Linked DNA regions of Homo sapiens: region 1 is linked to region 2. The links are contacts of gene promoters, found by promoter capture Hi-C in blood cells and fetal thymus (Javierre and others, 2016). All regions are on one chromosome and are shown on one strand. The core of a region is centred on a gene start or on the middle of the fragment in contact, and the rest is flanking DNA. Distances in the headings are between cores, read along the strand shown. Region 1 overlaps LYSMD2 (LysM domain containing 2). Region 2 holds the start of SCG3 (secretogranin III).

What was found. The method cuts DNA at HindIII sites, captures the fragments that hold promoters and counts their contacts. A CHiCAGO score of 5 or more calls a contact.
Region 1: a contact is called between a fragment that was not itself captured here and the fragment with the promoter of SCG3 in region 2, in 1 of 17 cell types (M1 macrophages). The highest score is 5.8, in M1 macrophages.

The regions. Positions count from the first base shown.
Region 1 is chr15:51,725,069-51,729,854 of GRCh38, reverse strand. LYSMD2 (LysM domain containing 2) reads left to right here. Exons shown (of 3, transcript NM_153374.3): 2 at 4,734-4,786. Among named protein-coding and RNA genes, the nearest start is that of LYSMD2, 10 kb to the left of the region's middle. RefSeq lists a silencer at 3,383-3,442. The HindIII fragment of the contact is 1,644 bases long and covers 2,092-3,735 here.
Region 2 is chr15:51,678,688-51,683,632 of GRCh38, reverse strand. SCG3 (secretogranin III) reads right to left here and starts at 2,130. Exons shown (of 12, transcript NM_013243.4): 1 at 1,796-2,130; 2 at 1,064-1,116; 3 at 509-554; 4 at 199-414. The coding sequence starts at 1,877. The HindIII fragment of the contact is 6,229 bases long and covers 1,825-4,945 here.

The DNA.
Region 1 (4,786 bases), core at 1,664-4,163, 45 kb before region 2:
GATTGGATCATGACTTTTCTTAGCTTTATATGAAGTGAAATTGCCAGAACAGTAGACCCAGCTACGTTCAGACAGAAGTATAAAACATACCAAAGGAGGCCAGGTGCGGTGGCTCATGCCTGTAATCCCAATACTTTGGGAGACCGAGGCAGGTGGATCACAAGGTCAGGAGATCAAGACCATCCTGGCTAACACGGCGAAAGCCCGTCTCTACTAAAAATACAAACAATTAGCCAGGCATGGTGGCATGCACCTGTAATCCCAGCTACTTGGGAGGCTGAGGCAGTAGAATAGCTTAAACCCGGGAGGAAGAGGTTGCAGTGAGCCGAGATCGTGCCACTGCACTCCAGTCTGGGTGACAGAGCGAGACTGCATCTCAAAAACAATAAAAATAAATAAATAAAAACATACCAAAGCAAAAGAAAACATCGTTTCACCATTTTGTATTTTTCAGTTTGTTGTCTGTGCTATGGCAGGTGCCTCTTTCTTGCTAATCCATTTTCTGCACCCAGCTGCTGAAGCAATCTTTAACTGTGATCAGATCATGTCACTCCCTGCCTTCACTCTCCAGTGGCTTCTCATCACATTTAAAATAAATTCCAAATTCCTTAACTTGGCACCCAAGGCCCTGCCTGGTTGGAAGTTTGCTTATTACTCCCTACACTTTAGCCACATGATTTTTTTCCTGCCCCAGGGCATTTGCTACTCCTTTTTCTAGATGGAATGCTTTTATTCCTGGCGCTTTGCATGTCTGATTTCATATTTCATCATGGGTAACAGAGTTTAGAGCCTATGCATTTGGCCTAAGCCATAGCTTGTAAAGAACAGGTTAAGATTTTCATTACCTTTTGAAAAACCTATTCAAAGCCTTTTGTGACATCTCAAAGCAGTGATGATATATTATGGTATTCATCTGGGCTTATCCATGTGAGATTTTCCCTATATATTCTTACTTTGGGGGAGAAACAAATTTTTTTTTTTTTTTGAGATGGAGTCTCACTCTGTCACCCAGGGTGGAGTACAATGGCACAATCTCGGCTTACTGCAACCTCTGCCTCCCAGGTTCAAGCGATTCTTCTGCCTCAGCCTCCCTAGTAGCTGTGATTACAGGCACCTGCCATCATGCCTGGCTAATTTTTGTATTTTTAGTAAAGATGGGGTTTCACCATGTTGGCTAGGCTGGTCTTGAACTCCTGACCTCAGGTGATCCACCTGCCTCGGCCTCCCAAAGTGCTGGGATTACAGGAGTGAGCCACAGTGTCCCGCTGAGAAACAATATTTTATGGGAGAAAATTTCTACCTTCTTCCTTCTCATTTGCTGATTATACATTAGAATCTGCCCTTACCTGTTGCTTTCTTACTTTTCATTAAATTTAATGATAATAATTGCTGACACCTTTGAGTACTTCTTGTGTGCCATATGTGTGTGTGTGTGTGTGTGTGTGTGTGTGTGTGTGTTTTCTCCTGGAGTACAATGTTGTGATCTCGGCTCAGTGCAACCTCTGCCTCCCACCTTCAAGTGATTCTCATGCCTCAGGCTCCCGAGTAGCTGGAATTACAGACATGCGCCACCACGCCTGGCTAATTTTTGTATTTCTTTTTTTTAGTAGAAATGAGGTTTTGCTATGTTGGTCAGGCTGGTCTCAAACTCCTGACCTTGGCCTCCCAAAGTGCTGGGATTACAGGCATGAGCCACTGCGCCCAGCCCATATGTTGTTCTAAATACTTTACATGAATTAATTCATTATGATATATGGAGAGGAAGGAACTGTTACTATCCTTACTTTACTGATAAGTAAACCGACAGGGAATGGTTAGAAAGTGGGAAAGCCAGGATGTGAACTCAGAAAGTATGGCCCCTGAACCCATGCTTCTGAGTACTATGCTGTATTAAACTCAAGACTCAAATCTGCCCCTGTCCTTAGATTGGTTCCCACCTTGTTGCTAACTGTGTCTGAATATCCCTGGTGTTCTTGACTCTGTCATCTTGTGTGTCATCTTGTAGTCTAGACCATAAAGGTCCACATACATCTTAAATGCTTACTAATGACATTGAGATGAAGACAGTGGAGCCCCTGACTTTAGGAAGCTTGTGGACCAGTTATAGTGAGTCACTTGTGCAGCAGTATGTACAGAAGCCAGGGGGAGCCTAGCCCTTCACTGCCTGTGGACTCCCTGACTGCACACAGCCTCTGAGTCTGTCACCTTGTCTAGTCCTCTGTAGGCCCCTTGCCTGGCCTTGATGGCCCATTGTGCTCTGTATGATAGATGTATCTGTCAGCATTGCAGCAGAATACAGATAACACTCTCAGAGGATGTGGCCGAAGAGAGTTTAATAAAGGGACATTTACTGAATGTGGGCATAGTTGAGGGAACCAACAAGGGAAGTTGAAGCACCCAGAGACTAGCAATAGCAGGGAGACATTACCCCTAGGCCTGAAGGGCCAAGGGAACACTGGCAAGATCTGGAGCCTTGGATCTGGGACTCCTGATAGGAACTCTCACCAGAGAGGAATGCAGCCACTGGTTATGGTAAGGTCGTTCTGCTGCTGTTTGAAAACCAACTGGAATTCCAAGGACAAGGGGACCTGGGTAATGCCGTTCTTAAAAAGTCAGCCTCCTAGGGTTTAGAATAAGCCCAAGAAGAGTGGAGGAATGGATTGGGAGGGGAGAGTGGGTTTGAAAGGAGAATAAGCAGCACGACAGATAACTTACTACCCATTTCTGATTACTTCATCTTCCATGCCCACTCCTCTGACCTGCGTTAATTCATCCATCCATCCATCCTTCCATCCACCTGTCCATCCATCCTAAGCACTTAGTGTGTATGAGATCTTTGTCAGACCAGGAAGGCTATAGCAATAACCAGTTCTTGCCCTCAAAGAATTAATAGTGTACTCTTGCAGTTCCTAGCTCTGCTCAGCAGTTTGGATCCTGGTCCCATCTGTTTCTGTCTTCCATCATTATTCCCAGGAAGCAATGACTATTAGCAGTCGTAGTCCCCTTCTGATAAGCATTTCAAAGGGCACTGTATCAGCAAGAGCTCTTTCAGCTACAAGTGACAGAAAACCTAACTCAAATTGGCCTAAACAAAAAACAAACTCCAAGTGGAGTTTAGTGGATCTTGGAACTGAGCATGTTCTGTCTTCAGGCTGTGATCCAGAAGTTCAAATGCTCACCTCTAAGGTGACTCCAGTATCAGATTCCACAAGGTGCCAGGATGACTGCCAGCATCTCCAGCCTATCTCCTTCCAGCAGAAAGCAGTAGAGAACTCTCCCCTCGACTACCGTCCTGCAGGAGTCTCTTTGCATGTCTGAATGATTCTGTCATGGGTCTGTGATCTATCACAAAAGCCTGTGATGCTCCCCAGGGCAGGAATGAGTCATATGCTCACTCTGGAGCCAGGGGAGGGCTTAGTGTCATTGGAAGCCTATGCACTAAGAGAGATAGAGCAGCTGGATGCTTGGGGGCAAGATCTAGGGGTCCTAAAGGCGAAATAGCAATAGGTATACCTGAACCTGCTACGGGCAAAGTGTCCAAGTTATTAACCCTTTCAAACCTGAACTAGACCAGAGATACTTGGGGTTTTTAGATTTTAATTTTGTCTCTAAAAGGCACCTGCCCATGTTTATGTTCTCTTTCTCCCCTTAAACTAGAAACGAGAACACAAAAGACCATCCTTTTTAAAAATCTCATTCCTTTAATGGAGTATCTTTAGAAGAAAAAAGAAAGCTTTACATGTACTATTTGCATGGAATCAGCTTATAACAAAGCAGGATGAACAGGGTCCACTTAGTTGACTGTTGTTTTTGCAGGCTTTTTGAAGTAGAAATACAATTTTTTTGTTTTTACTCAGAATTCATTTGGCATTAAAGGCTCCCCATAATGTGATTTCATTAGTTGTGTACTTTAATTCAGATGTTGTACGGACTTCGGAGTCAGACAAAAATCCCATTTTAAACATTTAAAGAGCCATATGTACTTGGTCAAATCTACCATCTCTTTTGTGTTTTGATTTCTTCATCGCAAAGTGGAGAGTAGTAAGTACCATCCACTGCCAGACACTCTAATCACTACTTTCTCTCTCTCTTTCCATATAGATATATATGGGAATATATGTATAGAATGTACATATATTTTTATATATTCTCTCATATATATATATTTCCTTGATGTGAGTGGGTATATAAGCTCTCATTTAATCCTTGCAACAACCCTGTGAAAGGTAGATGGTACCTGTTTTACACATGAGGAGAAAGGATCAATGATATAAGTAACAAGCTCATGTTCATACAGTAACTGTATTTACTAAGTACAGTTCTAGAGACATGGGAAGCACTTCATAAGTAAAACAGCAGCAATGGTAAGTTTAAAAAAAATCAGATAATAGAAATGTTAAAACAAGAATGGAATTTATTAAGTGCTAAAAATTTTACATTTTTAAACTTCAGAGATTTAAGTCCACTGATGTTAAAAGCTGCCTTGTAGTAGAAATAGTATAATGTGGAAAAATTAGTCTGTCCTTTTTAAAAATTGGGAAACAATTCTCCAACATCTCTTGAAATAACTAGAGATATCTGGGGAGGTTACCAAACCTGAATGAAGAGTCTCAAATCCCAAGAAAGCATTGTGTACATTTTGCTTATGAATATTGGTAGTTCTGTATTGTATAATAAATCTTACTCCTTGACTTGGTTATATGTAATTCTGTGTCTCCTTTTTTATATTTTAGATGGAACAGATTAAAAGGGCCAATAAACTGTTTACCAATGATTGTATATTTCT
Region 2 (4,945 bases), core at 881-3,380:
TTAAAGGGAAAATAAAATATGGCACTCTGTGGAGCTGGGGCTCTACATGTTATCAGTAAATATATGCTTTATCTCAATTTTGGACTTGACTAATAAAGGATTATGAATGTTTAAAAGATATTTTTAAAATATTGGACTTTCTCTTAACCCATTATAGGAAACTCCACGTTAACAAAAAGTTCTTTTTTTCTCATTTACCTTGAAATTTATGATCCAATCCACTCTTAGTAGAGTCATAATCATCGATCAGTTTTCGATTCTTGGTTGAATCAACATCTTCCACATTCAACTTATTATCAAGTGGGGAGCTTCTTATAGATTGTCTTTCTTTCTCAATTTTTTCCTTTTCTGTTATTGCCTTTAGCAGGTTCAAGTTATCAACAAAAGAATAGTTGCTCTGACCTGGCTTGTTTTCTGGAAGAATAGCCCCAAACCCAACACAGCCATTTTAGTTCAGATTCTCATAGCCTACATTATTTAAATTAACATCAATATGATTTCTTTTTACCTGGAGGATATGTTTTTTTAATCTTGTCTTCTTCTGCTTCAGCAATCTGTGAAGCAAACAGGAGATAGACTTGGTTTAAAATCATTGCTCCACTACTTACCAAGTACAAGAGCCAAATGATTTAATCTCCATGGGATTTAATTGTCTTGTTTGTAAAATGTGGATAATTCCTATTTCAGAGCACTGTTATAATAATTAAATGAGATAAAATTAAGGGTAGATGCTCAGTCAGTGTTAATTTCTTTCTCCTATAATATTGTTGAAAGAGAAATCTCTGGTAAATTAGGCAATCTTACAACAGAGTGGATGTGATGCTGAGCTTACTGGGTTATTATATAGTTACTCTATGTATTCATTATACAGAACTCAATGTAAATAACTGCTAGGGCATAGAATTTACCAAAACTAGATTTCCCGTCCTAATTTCTGTCAATTAACTATTAAGTTCCTGATGTTTGTAAATTCAAAATGACCAAAATGTCACAGCATAATTACATTAAATAATAATAACTAAATCAAAATGAAATAGCATTCATAATGTTACTTTTGACCTACCTGTTCATTCAAAGGTCTTTCTGCACTTAATTCTCTATTATGTAGAGATTTGTCTAGAATAAACACATGTGAATATAAATTTAATTGTGCGTTGAAGGACAAAATATGCCTCTTATTAAATAAAATTTTTATAAAAAGGAAAAATATTAGGAGAAATAATTTTGGATGACTATGAAACAAATGCATATTAACAAAGATTATCAAGATTATACAATAATAGTAATTATCAATATTGCCTTGTTTATTATCTTGGTGTATTTCTTGAGCTGACAGAATCACACTTTTTTTTTTTTCTGACCAGAAATTTAACATATAGTTCTAACACTAGGGTTATCAGCTATTCTCAGCTAGAGAGAGCATAATTTGGATTGGTATTATTGGCACACTAAAAGCTCTTTCATCATATACTGCATATATAATGAATAGACTGTCTGAGAAAGGTTGTAAGGCAACTAGAAAACAATCCAAGCCACTTTAGGTGAAAAAGGTTCCCTTCCCTTTTCAAAATAAGATCTTTAAAAACAACCCATATTATTGCTCTATCATTTTAAAAGTGAAGAAAAAAAATCTGTCTTCTGTCTCTAAATTCGAACTGATTTCTCTGTCCGTATTCATGGATATGATTTGATCAGAAAACGCGTCAGGGTGATTTACAGCTCACGTATTATGCCAAACTTTACCTTTTCGTGGCGAAATAAAAGGAAGGTAGGAAGAAGAAAAGTGTTCACATACCTTGGCTTCCTCCAGGTTTGGGGAAAGCTTGAATCGGGAGCACTAACACCAGAATCCAAGTGCCGGTCCCGAGGAACCCCATTCTTCCACGCTCGGCTTGGGTCACAGCCCGGCGCTGGGCTCCTGGAGCTGTAGCTTTTGTTATGAATGAAAAGGAGGAGTAAAAACAGGAAGAGCCAGGAGGGTGGGTGTGGGGCGGGAGAGGGGCCGGGACTGGGCGGCTGCAGGATCTCTGACACTCGACGGTCAAGGGATAAGCAGGGTTGGGGCGCGCGGGAGTCAAGTCTCCAGGTAGAGGGGAGCGCTGTCCGCCCTGTGGGTGCTGAAGTTCCTGTGACGCGGAGACTGCGCGCCAGGGCGTAGCTTTACTCTCGCTCCCTCCTGCAGAGGAAGTGAGGAAGGAAGCGCATGCTCCATGCACGCCAGAGGCGGGAGGGGATGGCGTCGGTGACTCCAACGCTACTCCAATCCCCCGGGAATGGAACAAAGGAGGGGCGACCGGCCAGCTGGTGTATTTTCTGTGCTGCAGTCCTAGGGTGCTCCTGGGCTCAGGGTCAGCTGGCTTGTCCTAAGCGTGACAGAATTGTCCCAACCTCTCAAGTAAATGTTACTTCAAGGGCCAAATGCCTTCTCTGCCTGTGCACCTGTCAAGGAGATTTAGATAACCTTGTGCGAGGAGTTCTGCTTCGGGATTCTTCTTTTGGGATATCTGCTCCAGAATCCCTTCCTTCCATTCACCTCCTGTACCCAAAAGGTAGATATAATTATAATCTCTTTAGAAAAGCCCTGCCTTTTGTGGTCTGTGTTGACGTATCAAGCATCCCTCAGCTCTACCGAGGCTTTTGAATTGGGAAATTCAAGGAACAGTCTTCCAAATAGTCAGATTGCTGCAATACACTCTCACTCTCTGATGCTGAAACACAACAACAACAGAAACAGTCCTGAGTAGACGAGCAGCAATGGCAAATTCTCCTTTCCCCACCAAGTGGAACCTCCCCCACTTTACACACACACACCACACAACTAAATTAGAAAAAAGAAGCTGCATTTCTGTAAAATCTTGCCCAGAATTTAATTATGCCCAAAGACCTGGCTGTTCCAGGGGGTCCTTCAAGAGAGGGGATAGTCATGAAAAGCATTTTTCATCTTTACTAAGTCAGGGAGGTGCTTCCTATGTTCTGAGAATATTCCCAGAAGCCTAAGGTTATTGTATACAAGGAACTATCAAAAGACTTTAAATGATGAAAACAAGCAACATTAATGTGAGCAGGATGCTGAGTAAGCTCTTTAGTCTCTGATTTTTAAACAGAACTTGGACCTTTTCCTCTGGACTGCGGCATGCTGGGAACCAGTCTGAATAATGACCAAAGAGAAGGATTCAGCACAATCAGGCCTTTGATTTCTGCACCCTCCTTTTCAAGGAGGAAGTTATTCAAGTACCTAAAAACAAACAAACAACCAAGCTGACAAACAAATCTCCCTTGCTCCGGAGGTTTTTGAGTTTGGAAGTCACTCAAATACTTCCTTTGAGGATCTAAAGAGTATTCTAAATCTAACAGCTCCTTCAAAACAAAAAACTCTTTATTGGCAGTAATAACATAGCATTATTATCCCAGTATACTGCATTAAAAAATTAAGTCATATTTTAAAATCCCAGCTGAATGAAGGGTATATTTCCTTAGTTTCCTTTTCTTTATGATGGAAATGACAGGCTCTGTTTACCTCACACTGTTATTATGAAGATCAAATGGGTACATGTTTTGAACTAGTCATTTTGATACCAAGAATATTTTGATACAGCCTAAGAAAATAAGTCATGAAACGTTTTCAGCTTTTATGAAACATTACCCAACGCTATCTGAAATAGCCATTCACTGATCCTGAGACTCACTGACCTAATCCCTCAGCTTCACTTTGTCCTTTGTCCCATTCCTGACTCATTTATCTCCTCAATACATGTTTGCAATTGGGAGAGATTCAGGATGGGATGAAGGTCAGGGATGTCTGTTGAGTACATTGCATTGCTTGCCCAAAAGAAAAAGGGTATTTTGTCTCTTTCTGCCATTTGGACTTAAAGTGATTATGTTAAATGGACACTAAATCTAGGATCATGTTATGTTTCTGATCAAATGAGTGGTGGAGCATTGAGTAAAACATAGGCATGAATTAGTTTACATTATTCAGCCTTATGGATGATACCACTGGACTTAGTATAGGTCTGTGAATGGAGTAATCCTAAATTGTATTTATTCATCAATTCACTTAACAGGTGTTTATTGAGCATCTGAAATGTACCAGGTATTGAGATAGTTGCTGGGTGTACAAAGACAAGTAAGACACTAGTCACTGCTAGTCCTATAGCCTAGTAGAGAGAAAATATTGTGAATATAACAACAACTATTTGGTGAACAGGTTTCACATGCAACACACTATTCTTATTGAAATATAAGTGAATGAATAAGTACAAGAGAGTGTTATGTGTCCTTTTTGTATTTGCAAAGCTCAAGTAGAGTCTGTCCAAATAATGGAATGAATGGTCAGGAAAGATTTCAAAGAGAAGACAGCCCTTTTATTAATAATAAAAAGATTAAAATATTTGATTCTTATGTGTGAGAACACTATAAACATGGAATAATATGAAAATATATGTTGAAATTACAAGACAAATAACATTGACACAGATCAGATAATTATTAAATCAACAATGTACAATGCACAGTGAGTTTGTCAATGCTGCTTGTTCATTTGTCAACACAAATGGAACAATTGTGGTGCGCTCATTCACTAGTGGAGAATATTATTTTTGAGCTGAGTCTTGAAGGTAGAGACATTTGTAGGATGCTTTCATTTATTACAGAAAAAATATATTAATTATTATTGTATTTTTATAGAAAATTTCAAGCACAAAAGTAGAGGAAATATTGAAATAAGCATGCATGAATCCACTACCCAACCTCAATTATCATTAACTCATGACCATTCTTTTTATTCTATATTTCCGTCCACTTCATACCCCAATGAGTTGTTTATCCATTAAAAACCCCAGACTTCATCATGAGGTCAAGCGATTGAGACCATCCTGACCAACATGGTGAAACCCCGTCTCTACTACAAATGCAAAAATTAGCTGGGCGTGGTGGCACGCGCCTG